Linked DNA regions of Homo sapiens: region 1 is linked to region 2. Evidence: promoter capture Hi-C in 16 types of primary human blood cells and fetal thymus (Javierre and others, 2016). All regions are on one chromosome and are shown on one strand. Each heading gives the region's core, a stretch centred on a gene start or on the middle of the fragment in contact. The rest is flanking DNA. Distances are from core to core; before and after follow the strand shown.

Region 1 (4,254 bases), core at 791-3,290, 170 kb before region 2:
GGATTCTCCTATGGAAACATTCCTATGTCTTAGAACCTTGACCACAAGTTTTTCTTGTAGTGATTCTCAAAGTCTTGGTAGGCATTCGAACTGATCCTTTCACTGAGATTCTTTTCCTTTGCTCCTCTGATCAAGTCAGCACACATCTTCTCCAGGGATTTTATGTTGCAGCTCGTTAGAGTGATTTGAATTCGGTGAATTGCCACCTCCAGCTCCATGGGTGTTTTTCCGGTGTCTTTAAAAGCCTTGGCTGCAGCGGGCTTCCTGACCGACTTGTTCCTTGGCGAGAGAGAACAGCGGTGAGTCAGGAGCAGGAGCGGGCAGGAGCGGGCGGACCGCAGCTCCGCACCACCTATGACTGTGTCTTCCTCAAAGAGCAAAACATTATATTTTTTTGTGTGTGATTATTTTATTTTTATTTTTTTAGGCTCATCAGCTATTGTTAGTGTTAGTGTATTTTATGTGTGACTCAAGACAGTTCTTCCAATGTGGCCCAGGGAAGCCAAAATTGGACACCCCGATCTATTAATAAGATTTCTTGAATTCTGATTTTTGAGGCAGCAAGTATAATTTGTCTCTAAAAGCTCCAAGTGTGTTTGTGCCAGCCAGGAAATGACTCACCTTTTGTTGTATTGTTCTAGAGTTCATACTGGCTAAAATTAGCCCAAGAAATATGTGGCATAGTTCCCAATGAGTTGGATAAAACAAAAGATAGTATATAAGGCTGTTTAGCTCAAGGCTTCATTCTTAAGGCTCTCTGATGGCAGCAGTTGAGGTCTCTCTGAGCCTGCAGCCTCAGAGAATTTTGAAAGTAACATCTAAAATGAGTAGGCTGAGTTAATGAAATGTGAGATCACCAGGTAGAGTTGTTTTGCTCAGATTGCTTAAATTACCCAATCTTTCTGTGGTGATTTTTGTCTAAAATAGCCTACTTAGTAGGCAGTGTTTGCTCAAAAATCTTATCTCAAAAAATGAGTTTAGTCTCCTGTTTTTCTGCTAAATTTTCCCTCTCCTGCAGTAAATAAGCTCTGTGCACTTGACTTGGAATTTTTCTCCATGTTAACTCACTCTTAGGGGCTATTATGTGTTAGAATCTGAGAATGCTTTACCAAAGAGCTCTTAAGAGGTCACCTGTTACTGGCTCTTTTTTTTTTTTTTTTTTTCCAGACAGGGACAGGGTCTCGCTCTGTCACCCAGGCATGAATACAGCTCATGCAGCCTCAGCCTCCTGGGGTCAAGTGATCCTGCCACCTCAGCCTCTCGAGTAGCTGGGAACACAGGCACACAGGCTGCATACCACCATGCCTGGCTAATTTTTTTTTTTTTTTTTTTTTTTGTAGAGATGTGGTCTTGCCATGTTTCCCAAACTGGTCTTGAACTCCTGGGCTTAGGTGAGCCTCTTGCCTCAGTTTCCCAAAGACTTAGGATCACGGGCATGAGCCATGACGCCTGGCTGTTACCAGTTCTGAACTAGAAGTGCAGTATGCAGATGGCTTTGGAAATGTTGAGGGGTTTTTGGGTAGTAAGCGACTGGGAGATAAATCATTGAAATTTAGTGACATTGGCACAGACACTAAACTTTCTGTAATGTGCAGGGAGGTCCTACACACTATAGAATTAGGTCACCCAAAATGCTGTCTGGCTCCTGTTGACAAATACTGAGAGCCCAACCCTTTGCTATTTCATAAGGGGAAATGAGGATTCAATTGAAGCTTGCCTTATACCACATAACTAATTAGGAGTGGAGCTAAGCTTGATAGAACCCAGCCTTTATGTTTCCTAGTTTACAGTGCCCTTTATGATATACATGGTGGGTAGAAAACCTTTCTGAAGACAACCACTATTTAAAAACATTTTTAAAAGCGTATGTGTGTATATATAATACTATTATTTCCACTGCAGTGCTAATTGGATAAAAGCTAAGACACCAAGGACTTTTTAAAGCCAGGTCTAGCTGAAATAGCAGCTGCCATTTTTAGTGAGTTTGAATATTTGTAGCACATAATAATGCATGAGTTAATTTGATCCAGTGCAAAGTATGTGACATATGTGCAAGTCATTCTTAAGACTCTCCTTAAAGAATCTGGGACAAAAAACAGAATTTTTCCCAAAGGAGATGGGAAAATTTGAATCTGTCCACATGAGGTTGCGGCCACATTGGGATTAACTGAATCTCATAAAAGGACCACCAAGGTGAACAACTTAGGGCTTTTAGGCCCTGTATGGCAGTATGTCACCCTCTTTCTAGACACACAGAAGTAGCCTTTGAATAATGTAAAACTAAATGTAAACCTAAAAAATGCCAACATTTGGTTGATGAAACCTGGAGAAGCTTTTCAATAAGAATTCATTAGAAGATGAACAGTTTTATTCAAACGAAGGCATTTAATGCTATAGTGAAAGGAACCTGTAGCCAGAAAACTTAGATTCAGGCTAGTTTTACACTTGAGATCTTAAGTTAACTTCTTCCTTTCATGGACCTTAGTTTCCTTATTTATTGCCCATATGTTATTAAAAATGAGAGAATGTTTGTGAATGTCATCAACTGTAAAATCCCTTATGTATACAAGGTATTCTTATTTTTCTAGGAAAAGCCAGCCAAAGTAAAAGTGGAATTGGCTTCTGGCGTCTCTTCCAAAGGCTCTGTGGTGAAAAGAAATCAGCAACCTGTCACCACTGAGCAAAATTCCTCTAAGGAAAATGCCTCCAAACTGACTCTGGAGAATTCGGAAGCTGTAAGCCAGCTCCTGAACGTAGCTCCTCCCAGAGAAGTAGGTGAGGAGAGTGAGTGGGAGGAAGTGATCATCTCCGATGCCCATGTTTTGGTTAAGGAAGCTCCCGGGAATTGTGGTACAGCAGTCACTAAGACGCCAGTCGTCAAAAGTGGTGTGCAGCCTGAGGTCACTCTGGGGACAACTGACAATGACAGTCCTGGAGCAGACGTACCAACACCATCCGAGGGGACAAGTACCTCCAGTCCACTCCCTGCTCCTAAAAAACCTACAGGGTAAGTCAGTGTGTTTGTATAATATAGGGCTTTGGAAATGCCCCATGTTTCTTTTATCTCATGTCTGTACAGCATGCCTGAGAGAGGCAGCAGAGACCAGGCAATGGTTCCTGTTTTAGAGATACAGAAACCAAGGCCTAGAGATATATAAAGATTGTCCCTTCCCCCGGACTCTGCTATTCATGTACTGCTGTCAGATTACTTACACATCTCTTCTTGTCAGTCTCCCTAAAGCATTAATTAGAGTCTTGCTGGTATAGGCTCTGGGCAGTATTAAAACTATGAGTTACCAGTCCTGGATACTGGATTTGGAAAGAGAATCTTTATTAAAGCATCCTGTAGAAAGAGTTCTGGCCTTATAGTCAGAGAACTCAGTACTGGTTCTGACTGTTTCTGGCTTCTGTTTGACTTTGGGCATTGTCACTTCATGTCTCTTCACCTCAGTTCTCTCCTCTGAAGAATCTTGAGTTGGATATTAGAAAATCTTATCCTCACAGGCTGACTGTACAAACTGAAGATTGTATATAAAACATGCAACCAAGTACCTTGCAAGTCGGAGGAAGTCACTATCTTTTTCTCCCCTTTTCCTCCTTAAATGCTTAATTGGATTCTGTGTATATCCCTTCCCTGAGGAAGTTGTGTTCTTGTAACTGAAGACCCTTATTTGTATCAATGGTTCTCAACTGGTAACAATTGTGCCCGCAATGAACACCAGAAGCCAATTCCACTTTTAACTTTGGCTGGCTTTTCCTGGAAAAATAAGAATACCTTGTATACCTTGTATGCAAATATGTATGTGTGTGTGTGTATATATATTTTTCCCATTTTTTTTTTAACACAAATCATAGCACAACATACATACTTCTACATCTTGTTTTTTATTTTTATGTTTATTTTTATTGTTTGAGACAGGATCTCTCTTTGTCATTCAGTCTGGAGTGCAGTGGTGCGAACACAGCTCCCTGAAGCCTCATCCTCCCAGGCTCAATCGATCTTCCCACCTCAGCCTCTGGAGTAGCTGGGACTACAGGCACGCACTACCACACCTGGCTAATTTTTGTATTTTTTTTTTTGTAGAGATGGGGTTTTGCCATGTTGCCCAGACTGGTCTTGAACTCCTGGGCTCAGGTGATCCGCCCGCCTTGGCCTCCCAAATACATCTTGCTTTTTTTTGGGATGGAATCTCGCTCTGTCGCCCAGGCTGGAGTGGCGCCATCTCGTCTCACTGCAAGCTCCGCCTCCCGGGT
Region 2 (3,995 bases), core at 152-2,651:
GTTTCCACAGGTGTAAAATGAGATGCACAAACATGTCTTCCCAGACAGTTGGAAAGAATTAAAAATTAGATGTTGGATGCAAAAATCCTTCATAATGCACACAGTAGGGCTCCATAAATGCTCCTTCTCTTCACACTCACAGCCACTCTTGGCCCCATATGGGTCAGCAGGCAGGGGGCAGAGGAGACACCTTCCTCCTGGGTCTGGAGAGCCCCTGGTTTGCCCTTTGTGGCCAGGCTCAAAGGGGAGAGAAGTTTGACAGGACCTGGGCAGGGGAAGGGGTGGACTGGAGCCTGGCCAGGCCTTTACCCAAGTCCATGCTTTGACTTAAACCCCTCCAACCTTTTTTCAAGCTCCAGAGGTGGGAGAGAGCAGAACCTTATTCTCATCTCTCCCCAAAGGCCTCCCACCGTGTCAACTGATAGTGAGCCAAACAGATGTATGGTTAATGTCTAAACTGGGACACTTGCGAGGGTGAAAAGGACACAATTTGTAATGTATATACTGATCCGCTAGTGTCTATCAGTCAGTCCCAGCAAACCAACGTGTGCCATTGCTCCAGCTCATCATTTCCCATCCTAGCCACAGGCTCACTGGACCCTCAGAACATTCTGAGGCAACAATGCATGGGCGGCTCGTGGCCCATTTTACAGATATGAAATTAGAACTTTCCAGAAGCCATACTGCTGCTGGACAGGAAACCAGTTACTAATCATCTAAGTCACAGATCACAGTGACACTGTGGCACTTGCCTGTCCCTTCTGCTCACCCAAACCTCCCCATTTTGCTTTCATCTTAAGGAAAGGAGGAGAGTTGAAGACTCTACTAGCCTAAAGGTCCATGAAGCCTGACTCTGTCCCTGGTGTCACTCATTAGCCCCGTGACTTTGAGTAAGTAACTTAACTTCCCTGTCCCTCAGCTTCCTCATCTGTAGAATAGGAGTAACGACACCTGTCTCTCCAGGTTGAGAAAATAGGACACCTAGTTCAGGACCTGGCACATTTTAGGTGCTCAATAAATACTGATAGATTGAATAATTGGACTAATGGTGGCGTGGGCAACCCACAGTCAGTGAATAAATGTTAACTGAGCACCTACTATGTGTCAGGCTCTTTGTGCTAGATGTTTTCTATGCTCCATCTTCCTGAATTGCTCACACTCCTGTAAGAGAGGAGAGATTCTTATCCCCTAAGGTCGCACAGCAAAGACGACGCAGGGGGGTGGGCTGTTAGTGTTCCTTGCCCAACTGTGGAAAGGGAGTCCCAGAGAGGGCAGGTCGCTTGCCCAAGGTCACGCAGAAAGCCGAGGGTTTCCGTCGCGAACCCCCCTCCCCACTCGCTCAGGGCTCTCCAATCCGCAGCTCTGCGTGCGGGGGCGCGCGCATCCCCCCGCCGTCCGTCCGTCAGCTGTCTGTCTGGGTGTCTATGCGGGCGCAGCAGTGCACCCTTCCCCAGCCTCGGGCGCTGCGCAGGGACAGACAAGGCATTCGCAGCGCCCTGCCCGCGCTCCACGCCCGCAGCCGCCAGACGGCAGCGCCTGCGTCCGTGCCCGCCCCAGCCGGTGCGCGGGAGCCGCGGGGGCAAAGGCGCAGTGGCCAGCGGACCATCTCTCGTGCCCTCGCTCTCTGCGCTCCGGGGCAGCTGAGCCCCGGCCACCCGCTCTCCAAGATGAAGAAGCTCCAGGGAGCTCACCTCCGCAAGGTAGGGCACGAGGGCGGGGGCGCTGGGGGTGCACCTGGAGGAGGGTTGGAGAGACCCGCCCCCAACGAGGCCCCTGGGGAAGGTCTGAGGATGCACCCAGACCAGCTTCGGGCTCTGGGGAAGGCCCGACTCAGCTGGATAACAGGGAGGGTCAGGGTCACGGTCTGCGCCCCCACCTCTGCCCCTGCCATCTGGGGTTCGGGATGTAGTATGAGGGGAGTCCTGGTTCACTGGGCCAGGCCTATGAACAGGTGTCTGCAGTCCCCGGAGGCGCGGGGTAGGGGCGGCCGGGGCCAGGCACCCACCTCTTCCCCAATTCCACCCTGCTGCTCCCCGCCAGGAGCTGATTGCCGGGTGTGGGGGGTATTGGAATACCTGAGCGTTGAGCTGGACTCATCTGAGGGGTGGGGAGTGGGAGGCGGTCATCCATACTGAAGCCGGCTCCCTGAGCCTGCGGGAAGACTCTCCTCTTTCCTGCCTGCTCCCTCCCCGCCCCCTTAGCTTGCCTGCTGAGACCCCAGGCTGCCCCTCAGCAGGGCTGAAGGGAGGCAAAGACAGGGAGGGGGCTATCGGAGGCAGGAGGATATGATCAATGAAGATGGAAGCTGGTATGGGAGAGTGGCTGTGGGCCCAGACCTCAGGCTCTCCCTACCTTGCCTTGTGGGATTGGACCTCTCAGCCAAGCTGTCAGGATATGGGGAGGGGGAATACTGGGGGACGTTTTCTGGCTTGTACCAGTCCTAACTAAGGAGTCAGATCTCCTGAATACTATTTCTGCCGCTGCCACTTGCCTGGTGACTTTGGACAAGTTCATTCTCTAACCTGAACCTCCTCTGGCTAAGCCCTAGCCTGGAGGCACCAAAACAGGCCCCACTGGGTGTGTGAGGTGTGGGGAAGAATGCTAAAGGGCTGGTAGATGTGAGAAGACTGTTCTCAGGGGCTGGTGTTATCAACCTCCCTACATACACACACATTCACACTCACACTCACTCACACACACACTCATTCATTCAAGTTCTCTGCTCTGGGGCAGCTGGGCTTGGAACCACTGTGGTGTGTCTTTTTTCTTTTTCTTGTTTTTTTTTTTTGAGACGGAGTCTCGCTCTGTCACCCAGGTTGGAGTGCAGTGGTGTGATCTCGGCTCACTGCAAGCTCTGCCTCCCGGGTTCACGCCATTCTCCTGCCTCAGCCTCCCGAGTAGCTGGGACTATAGGCGCCCGCCACCACGCCTGGCTAATGTTTTGTATTTTTAGTAGAGACGGGGTTTCACCGTGTTAGCCAGGATGGTCTTGATCTTCTGACCTCGTGATCCGCCCGCCTCGGCCTCCCAAAGTGCTGGGATTACAGGTGTGAGTCACTGCGCCCAGCTGGTATGTCTTTTTTATTCACTGACATGAGTGACTTCTTGAGACCATTTGTGAGTCTCTTGGGTCCTGTTTCCATTCTTTTCCACTCTCCTTCTCTTCCCTCTCTGCCCTCCCTCCCCACAAGAGGCCCTGTCCCTCTTGCTGGGTGCTGGGCTGGGGGGTTAGCAAGCTTTATCTCATTTAATCCTTTAACACTTCCAGGGGCTAGGTCTTAGTAGCCCCACTTTATAAATAAGGCAACTGAGGCACAGAGGGGTGAGACTCACTGCTTACCTGCTGGCAGGCTAGGCAACCTAGAGCCAACAGGGCAGAGGGTTGGTTCTAGGTTGCTACCTCCTCTCAGGGTCCTTTCCCTTTTCTCAAGCAGAATTGGGCGGGAATGAGAAAATGCCAGATTTCCGCAAAGGAGCAGCATTGCTCAGAGATGAACACTGGACTTAGAGTCAGGGGATCTAGGTCCAAGTCTTGCTGTGCCTTTAACTTGCTGTTTGACCTTGGGCTCATCCCTTCTTCCTGAAACTTGGTTTCCTAATCTGCACAATGATGAAGCTGGACCCCAGATTCCTATTGTCTCTCTCTGTCCTGAAGAGTCTTGGCTTGGGCAGTCTTGAGTCTCCCAGCCCCTGCTGTGAGTCCCTAAAGGCGAGCATGCAGGTCTGACAAACTCAGCTGTGTGTTCCTGCATGCCCCTGGGGTAGGGAGTGGGAGATTCAGGAGTGGGAGGCTTACACCCAGGAAGAAGTATGAAGCAACTCATTCAGCTTCCAGCCCTGCCCCAGCTATTTGATTGCTTTCTTCCATCTCCCAACCAGCCCCATCCTCACTGTGCCAGCCTCCTGGGATTCACCCCATGGTGGGGTTGGGAACTCCAGTTGGGCTCCTGATTGGCTCAGCTTTGGAGGACCCTATCTCCTGCCCCTGGAGCAGA

The links. Contacts are between HindIII fragments. The CHiCAGO score rates a contact against its expected background, and 5 or more counts as called.
Region 1: a contact is called between a fragment that was not itself captured here and the fragment with the promoter of SLC6A7 in region 2, in 1 of 17 cell types (megakaryocytes). The highest score is 6.1, in megakaryocytes.

The regions. Positions count from the first base shown.
Region 1 is chr5:150,021,674-150,025,927 of GRCh38, forward strand. HMGXB3 (HMG-box containing 3) reads left to right here. Exons shown (of 20, transcript NM_014983.3): 7 at 2,589-3,007. It also overlaps the pseudogene RPS20P4. Among named protein-coding and RNA genes, the nearest start is that of HMGXB3, 23 kb to the left of the region's middle. The HindIII fragment of the contact is 580 bases long and covers 1,751-2,330 here.
Region 2 is chr5:150,188,661-150,192,655 of GRCh38, forward strand. SLC6A7 (solute carrier family 6 member 7) reads left to right here and starts at 1,402. Exons shown (of 14, transcript NM_014228.5): 1 at 1,402-1,700. The coding sequence starts at 1,668. The HindIII fragment of the contact is 12,060 bases long and covers 1-3,234 here.